2 separate regions of the Homo sapiens genome follow, and region 1 is linked to region 2. Evidence: promoter capture Hi-C in 16 types of primary human blood cells and fetal thymus (Javierre and others, 2016). All regions are on one chromosome and are shown on one strand. Each heading gives the region's core, a stretch centred on a gene start or on the middle of the fragment in contact. The rest is flanking DNA. Distances are from core to core; before and after follow the strand shown. Region 1 overlaps ZNF71 (zinc finger protein 71). Region 2 holds the start of ZNF582 (zinc finger protein 582).

What was found. The method cuts DNA at HindIII sites, captures the fragments that hold promoters and counts their contacts. A CHiCAGO score of 5 or more calls a contact.
Region 1: a contact is called between a fragment that was not itself captured here and the fragment with the promoter of ZNF582 in region 2, in 1 of 17 cell types (total CD8 T cells). The highest score is 5.0, in total CD8 T cells.

The regions. Positions count from the first base shown.
Region 1 is chr19:56,599,259-56,603,393 of GRCh38, reverse strand. It overlaps ZNF71 (zinc finger protein 71), which reads right to left. Exons shown (of 4, transcript NM_001370215.1): 2 at 1,803-1,887. The coding sequence starts at 1,835. ZNF71-SMIM17 (ZNF71-SMIM17 readthrough (NMD candidate)) reads right to left here. Exons shown (of 5, transcript NR_163263.1): 2 at 1,803-1,887. Among named protein-coding and RNA genes, the nearest start is that of ZNF71-SMIM17, 6.0 kb to the right of the region's middle. The HindIII fragment of the contact is 197 bases long and covers 1,419-1,615 here.
Region 2 is chr19:56,392,247-56,395,917 of GRCh38, reverse strand. It overlaps ZNF582 (zinc finger protein 582), which reads left to right and starts at 2,384. Exons shown (of 5, transcript NM_001320371.4): 1 at 2,384-2,698. It overlaps ZNF582-DT (ZNF582 divergent transcript), which reads right to left and starts at 2,242. Exons shown (of 2, transcript NR_037160.1): 1 at 1,865-2,242. The HindIII fragment of the contact is 9,401 bases long and covers 1-3,671 here.

The sequences.
Region 1 (4,135 bases), core at 268-2,767, 210 kb before region 2:
TATGTGCTACCACATGGTTGAACCTTGCAAATATTATGCTGAGTGAAAGAAGCCAGTCACAAAAGACCACACCATGTATGATTCCATTTATTTGAAATGTCCAGAACAGTCAAATTCATAGAGACAGAAAGCTGATTACTGGTTGCCAGGGGCCGTGGACTGATGGGGGAAAATGGAAATGAGTGCCAATGGGTACTCGGCTCTTTTTCAGGATGATGAAAATATTCTGAAATGGACTGTGGTGATGGTTAACGCGACTCTATGAATGTACCCAAAATCAGTGAATTGTACACTTTGTGATACGTGATGTGTACCTCAACAAAGGTACCAAACAAATGAAGACAGAATAAACCAAAGCTCCCAAATAAGTCTACTGACACATTTATATAGCAAAATCAATTACAGGTAGATTCAAAAGTTCATTGTTAACATTCAAATGACAAATGGTGAAAAGGAAGAAAATATAGCTGCTATGTGACCTGTGGATGGAGAAACCCTTTCACAGCTTAAAGATGAAGAAAGACACCACAGTGGGAGAAACCAACAGATTTGATTTTAAAAATATGAAATGCTTTTATACAGAAAAAATAAAGTAAAATAAAGAAACAAAAAGCAAATCTGGGAAGAATATTTGCCACAAATATTTACACACACACATTTGCTTCTGTAAAGTCTTTAAAGCATACTCAGATTCCTGTAGACTGCTAAAGCACAAGATGGATCATTTCCCTGCCCACAGAAATGGCTAGTAAACATTTTCTAAGACTTGAACTTCACTAATAATACAAACAATGCTACTCAGAAATAAATCACGTGGCACCATTTGTCCCCTATCAGGCTCATCATGGTTTATAGCATTTGTCATTTATATCCATTTATCATTTATTATCATGGTGCAATATTGCACCAATCTAAATATATCCAACATGCAGAATAAATGCCTGACAACAGCCATATAAATCATCAGAGACCCGCTCAGACATGCTGGTGGGAATACATACCGCCGTAACTGATGTGGAAATAATATCAAAATACCTCAAAAATACCCAACCCAATCTTCCTCTTCAAGGAATCACTCCTAAAGAAATCATATAAGACACAAAGAAAGATTTGTGCCCAGTGTCCCTCATGACACTGTTTATAACCAAAAAAAGAATACTTGGAAACCAATAAAGGTCCAACAACAGAGGAACCATTAAGTAAACCAGGGTATGGCCACTGAACAACACTTTTATGGGGTCATTAAGATGGACGTTACAAAGGAGTTTTTAATGATGTGGAGAAATGCTCAGGATGAAATCTCTGATGAAAAAGCAATCTTTAACATTAAAATTGCTTAGCCAGACTCAAACATTCCAGAGTGATTATCTTTTGGGGTAAAATCATGGGTGAATTTGTGGGCCTCATTCCCATAAGCTTTTGTACTTTCATCACACATGTGGGCATTCACATTCACAAGAAGCATTTAGTGTGTTTGCCCATTTTAAAGGTCACACATCCAGCATGGTCCTGCGCAAGTTTTCACTCAATGTCACATGTCTAAACCACCACTTCCCACAGGTGCCCACCTGTGTCTCCTAAGAGTCCAGAGAGCTAGTTTGGCCATTCCAAAGCTTCCCTGTCCCCTACAACTGACCCCACAGCCAGGGTCAGCATCATCTATAAGCACAGCCCTCTTCATCAGGGCAGACACAGCCCCAGAAGATGGGACTGGGGGCCTTGGAGAGGGTTCGAGCAGCAGAGGCTCACCCAAGGCAGGATCCAGCCTTTGGAAAGGAGAGTGACAGGGCAACATGACTCACCAGTGCCTCATCAGTCAGCAGCTGAGCAGCCATCCCTCTGCTGCCCACGGTGAATAGGAAGACAGGCCTGCGGTGACCAACAGTGCTGTAGGGAGAAGAAAGAGGGAGGCATGCTGAGAGACCAGGCCTAGGCTGGCCTCACAAATGTAGACAGGACAGACACACACCCACTGAGAGACAAGCAGAGACAGACAGATAGACACACATACACATACATCAACAGTGAGTATTTAGAGGGCTTACTGCATGTAGGGAACTTGAATGTATATCACTTGATCTTCCAACCATCCTGGAAGGTAGGTACTACTTCTACCTACCCATTTCACAGATGAGGAGGCTGAGGCCCGAGGAGATTAAACCACTTGCTCAAGATTACAGAGCTGGGACTGGAGTCAGGCAGAGTATGTCTGGGTCCACAGCTTAGCCTCCAGGCTACAATGCCTCACAGATGCACTCCCATGTACACTCCTATAGATATGGTTAACACACATACACTCACACACATTCCCGCAGGCTGCTGAGGGCCACCGGACACCCTGCCTTCTCCCAATGGCCCTGCCCGGATCCCTCCTTGAGTGTGAGTGCTGGACTGAGGCCCCCTGAGATGCCCCAGAACCACCTGTGGCCTCTTTGGGCACTTCCCCCAGACTTCATGGGGTTACCATGAGGTTCAACTAGCAGATATGAGTGTAAGGAACTTCCACCCAGGGGCTCTCAGAGCCAGATTCGCCTAGAGAAATGCATCTTGATTCAATTCTCCTCCAGTTCTCCTGACAAGCTCAGGATAAAGTCTCAAGTGGAGAGATATCTTAACATCCCTGCAACCCATCACTCGCCCCTTGAAACAAAAGAAAAGCAGGAGAATAAGATCCTGTGATTTGCAACAACATGGATAAAACTGGAGGTCATTATGTTAAGTGAAATAAGCCAGGCATAGAAAGACAAACTTTGCAAGTTCTCACTTGTGTGAGCTAAAAATTAAAACAAACTCATGGAGATAGAGACTAGAATGATGAAGAAACCTGAGGCTGGGAAGGGTAGTGGAAGGGTGGGGGGAATGTGGGGATGGCTAATTGGTATTAAAAAAATACAGAGGGCCGGGCGCGGTGGCTCACGCCTGTAATCCCAGCACTTTGGGAGGCCGAGGCGGGTGGATCATGAGGTCAGGAGATCGAGACCATCCTGGCTAACAAGGTGAAACCCCGTCTCTACTAAAAATACAAAAAATTAGCCGGGCGCGGTGGCGGGCGCCTGTAGTCCCAGCTACTCGGGAGGCTGAGGCAGGAGAATGGCGTGAACCCGGGAAGCGGAGCTTGCAGTGAGCCGAGATTGCGCCACTGCAGTCCGCAGTCCGACCTGGGCGACAGAGCGAGACTCCGTCTCAAAAAAAAAAAAAAAAAAAAAAATACAGAGGGTTGCAGTGAGCCAAGATTGCACCACTGCACTCCAGCCTGGCAACAGAGCGAGACTCCATCTCAAAAAAAAAAAAAAAAAACAAACCCCAAAAAAACAAAAAAACACACACACAAAGAATGAATAAGACCTACTATTTGACAGCACAACAGGGTGACTATGATCAATAATAATTTAATGATACATTTAAAAATAACTGGCCGGGCGCAGTGGCTCATGCCTGTAATCCCAGCACTTTGGGAGGCCGAGGCGGGCGGATCACGAGGTCAGGAGATCAAGACCACGGTGAAACCCCGTCTCTACCAAAAATACAAAAAATTAGCCGGGTGTGGTGGCAGGTGCCTGTAATCCCAGCTACTCGGGAGGCTGAGGAAGGAGAATGGCATGAACCCAGGAGGCGGAGCTTGCAGTGAGCTGAGATGGCAACACTGCACTCCAGCCTGGGTGACAGAGCGAGACTCCATCTCAAAAAAAAAAAAAAACAAAACACTAAAAATGTAATCAGATTGTTTGTAACACAAAGGATAAATCCTTGAGGTGACAGATACCCCATTTATCCTGATGTGATTATTACACATTGTATGCCCGTATCAAAATATCTCATGTACTCCATAAATATATAAACCCACTACACACCCAGAAAAATTAAAAATTAAAATTAAAAAGAAAAGCAGGGTTCAGGCCCCAAAGTTAGGGTGACCATAATATCTCATTAGAACTACCTGGCTTTACTTCAATTTGTTTTAAAGTTTGTTTCCCTTCTTACAGCAAAACTCAGCTTCTTTTACAGCAGTCACACAGAATACCCTTTTAAACTAAGTTGATTTAAATTAAAAACAAAAAAAAAATCAGTGAGCCAAATCAAGTAAATGGCAAAGTAAAAAAATAGGATCCATGACACAGATGAGGACAAATTCTTG
Region 2 (3,671 bases), core at 1,135-3,634:
CCAGTGGACATGTGACCCATGTGGCCTTACCTATCATTGGAGATGGCTCACACTCCTTATCCTGCCCCTTTGTCTTGTATCCAATAAATATCAGCGCAGCCTGGCATTCGGGGCCACTACCAGTCTCCGCGTCTTGGTGGTAGTGGTCCCCTGGGCCCAGCTGTCTTTTCTTTTATCTCTGTCTTGCGTCTTTATTTCTACAATCTCTCGTCTCCGCACACGGGGAGAAACCAACCGACCCTGTGGGGCTGGACCCTACAAACTCTGCATGTGCTTTGGCACAGGAATGTGTACTGGGAAGTGGCTGACAAAAGACCTATGGATTCCATGGAATGGAGAGGCTAGCTCAGAGCATTCTCATACTCTTAAAAGGAAGAAACTGGAAGCCACCCTCTAAGACGACCCTGAATGATCCCTGCCTCCTAGTACTTATACTCTTGTGTAGCCTCCACCTACTTAGACTCACAGCTGATTTTGTGACCAAGAGTATAATGGTGTATGACTTCAGAGGCTTGGTTCAGAGTCAGAAGTGGCCATTTCATCATCCTCTAAATTTCTCTTTGGCAGATTAATGAATGTGAGAAAGTAAAAATGGTATAGAAGAAAGTTAGCCTGAGAGATGGCTGGCTTTGTACCTGTTTGGTCTTTTTCCTTCCTTTCCTCCATAAGCAAATACTGACGCATGTACATATAGACACACTCAACACAGTGGGATGTTAAAGGGAAACTAGAGCCACTCGCCCCTTCCCAAGATCAGAGAACATAGGAAAGATGATGACTTTTTGCATCTACCCTCTCCTCTTGAACTCGCAACACTGTCTTGAACCACAAATAAGGTCAAGTAGGATAAATCTACAACTGTCTCCTCAACTGTCCGCTCACAAGTGTGAAATTCAACCATCCTTGCTGAAGTTGTCTTTTAATATCAGTAATCAGCAATAACCAACCTCTGAGCTTTGCTTATATTATTAAATCATTTTATTTGACCCTCAGGACAAAGCTGCAAGCCCAGCATTACATTCTTCCTTTTATGGACAAAAAAAAAAAAACAAAACAAAACCGAGATAGGCACGAAGAAACTAATAAATGGCTGAAATGCTATTTGAATCCACATCTGTCTAATTCTAAAAGTGTGCTTTCCACCACATCACCGCACCTACAAGGAAAATGCAGCCTCTACCCTCTCCTGAAGAATGTGTAAAGAGGCAATATGGTGTGTTTTGGAAAAAGCATCTTTGCAGAAAGAAAGCATTAGCTTCAGTCATATTAGCATCCTTATCCAGCAGCAGTAGCATTATTTTACATATCAGTTACTCCTCCCCAACAACTCAATGAATTAGATGCCACAATCATCCTCACTTTCAAATGTGGAGACCGAGGCACATCTCTAAGACTGGAGTTCAGGCATTCTGGCTCCAGTCTTAGAGATGGTTAAGGGTTCACACTCTTAACCATTTATTACACCATAGAGCTCACCAGGTTTGAGGGAAACAGGATCAAATCAAAAGAGTCACTCAGGACTCCAGTCCTCACTCAAGGACAAACTGTTCCACCTCGGACAGGGAGAGTTTCCGCATTCTGAGACCCAGCATAACAGGTCCTGACCGGCATCTGGCACTCGGACTCCCAATCATACTGGATCACACTGGCTCGGGATGTGTAAAGTCCAGGGCTTCTCACATTTGATGACACCAAAGCCGCCTAAAAACAAGAGAGAATTAACAACTACCTACGGCGGTCTGATATTTGCCCAAGAGATGCCGCCCCATAAAACTCCTTTACATCTTTATAACGTTTTTATTTTGCGTTCTCCTTCATAACCCACATTTAACTCACCATAGATGTAATGTTTAAAATTAGTTACCAGATAAACTCTTACGCTTCCAAACTTTAAGGTTCCTTCGAAACCTTCTGGTAAAACTGTTGTTCCACGGAAATGGGAACGTAACGGATGAGGCAATCTTCCACAGCCGCACACAGTTGTGTATCCACCGCTAAACGGTCCCAGTCATACATTCAACGACCCACGCGGAGTCAGAAGCTACCACCACACACTGTCAAAATCACGCACACACAGTGACGGCCCCTTGCCCACTCGGTCACTCGCCCACAATCTCTCGCTAGAGAATCACACGCAGATAGCACACCCAGCACCACAGACCCCAGGAAGCAACCCAGGGACTCGAACACACGAACAGCACTCCTCCGCGCACTGCGCAGGCACGCCTGCGTCCGGCTCACCCTGAAACATCGCGAGATCCGGCTTCAAGGCCGGGCTGCTGCCTTTACGCCTAAAGACTATGTTTCCCGGAAGACACTGCGGCGCCGGCCCTATCATGGCGCAGCATCGGTGTGCTTTGTGCGTCTGCGCCATCTTCCGGCTGCGCACGGCGAATCCACCGGTACCGTGGTGGAAGCGCGCCCTGGGCTGCCGGGGGCGCGGCCGCGGTGGCACTTGGACCCGAGGAGGCGGCAGGTGAGAGGTTCCGGAGCTTTCCAGGCGCTCTGGGGTCCAGCAGGAGCTGGTGCCCGGGCCGGTTGGGTCTCAGGCCTGAGAAGAACGCAGACGTCTCGCCTCATCGTCGCTCTGTGGCTTTACCGGCGTGAGACTACATTTCCCGCCGGCCCTCGCGGCGTGCGCTTTCTGGCGCCCCCTTTCTGCTTCCAGCCTCATAGCCCAGGTGCATGGACCCCTTAGGTGGGTGCGCAGGGGTCTCCGACCCCCTGAAATTGCGGATGTTTTGCATTCACTGTTATGCGTGCCTTTTTTTTTTTTTAATCTGAGAGGAAATCTTGTTTCATGAGGTTCTCAGAGAGTTACAAGACCCCAGAAGACTTAGAACCGCTAGTTTAGAAAAACTTATACTTGGGAACATTTTATATGTTCAAATTCTATGTCCAGCAATGGGGAAACACTTGAGTGGATCACAGGCCATCCTTTGTAAATAGGATATCGTGCAGTTAATACAAATAATGCTTATAAAAGTGGTCATAATAAGGAAAAGCTGCCTATTACATCATATTAAGCAACATTCATAATTATTTCACTTACACGTTACTTAGAACCAAATGTTTGTAATGCAGTAGGCACCTTATATACTCCTTTACAGAGTACTTCTTGTTTAACAGTGAGCTCAAGAACTGGTTAAATGACAACACTGCGAATACTTGGGTGTTTTTTCTTCCAATTTTTTTGTTTTGTTTTGTTTTTAGCCTGTGTGTTAGTGAGTTTGACTTCTTTTTGCTGAATGTTCTCAAAGGATTCAGTAGTTAATATCTTTGCTTGTCAGTTTTTGATAGTCATTTTTGATAGTCACTTGGCATCCCATTATATGGCTGTGCCAAAAATGATTCAACCTCTTGGCTACTTGTGGACTTGCCTACTTACGTACTAATTTTCAGTTCTCCTATTTAGCAAATATTATTGGACATGCAGCTTTGTGCACTGCTGTGTCTCTATGGAAGGACACATTTATGTGCTGATAATGGAGCACTGGGCGTGCTGTGTGTAATTTGTCTCTTACTGTTCCTTCCAACTCTATCCCATTTGTTGATGCAAGGCATGCTCCATGAAGTGGCATGCACAAAGCCTCAGTTTGGGCTGTAGAGCTTTTTGTATATTTGGCGGTTGGGAAAAGAGCCAGGTAGACTTTCAAAGGTGTTATATTTGC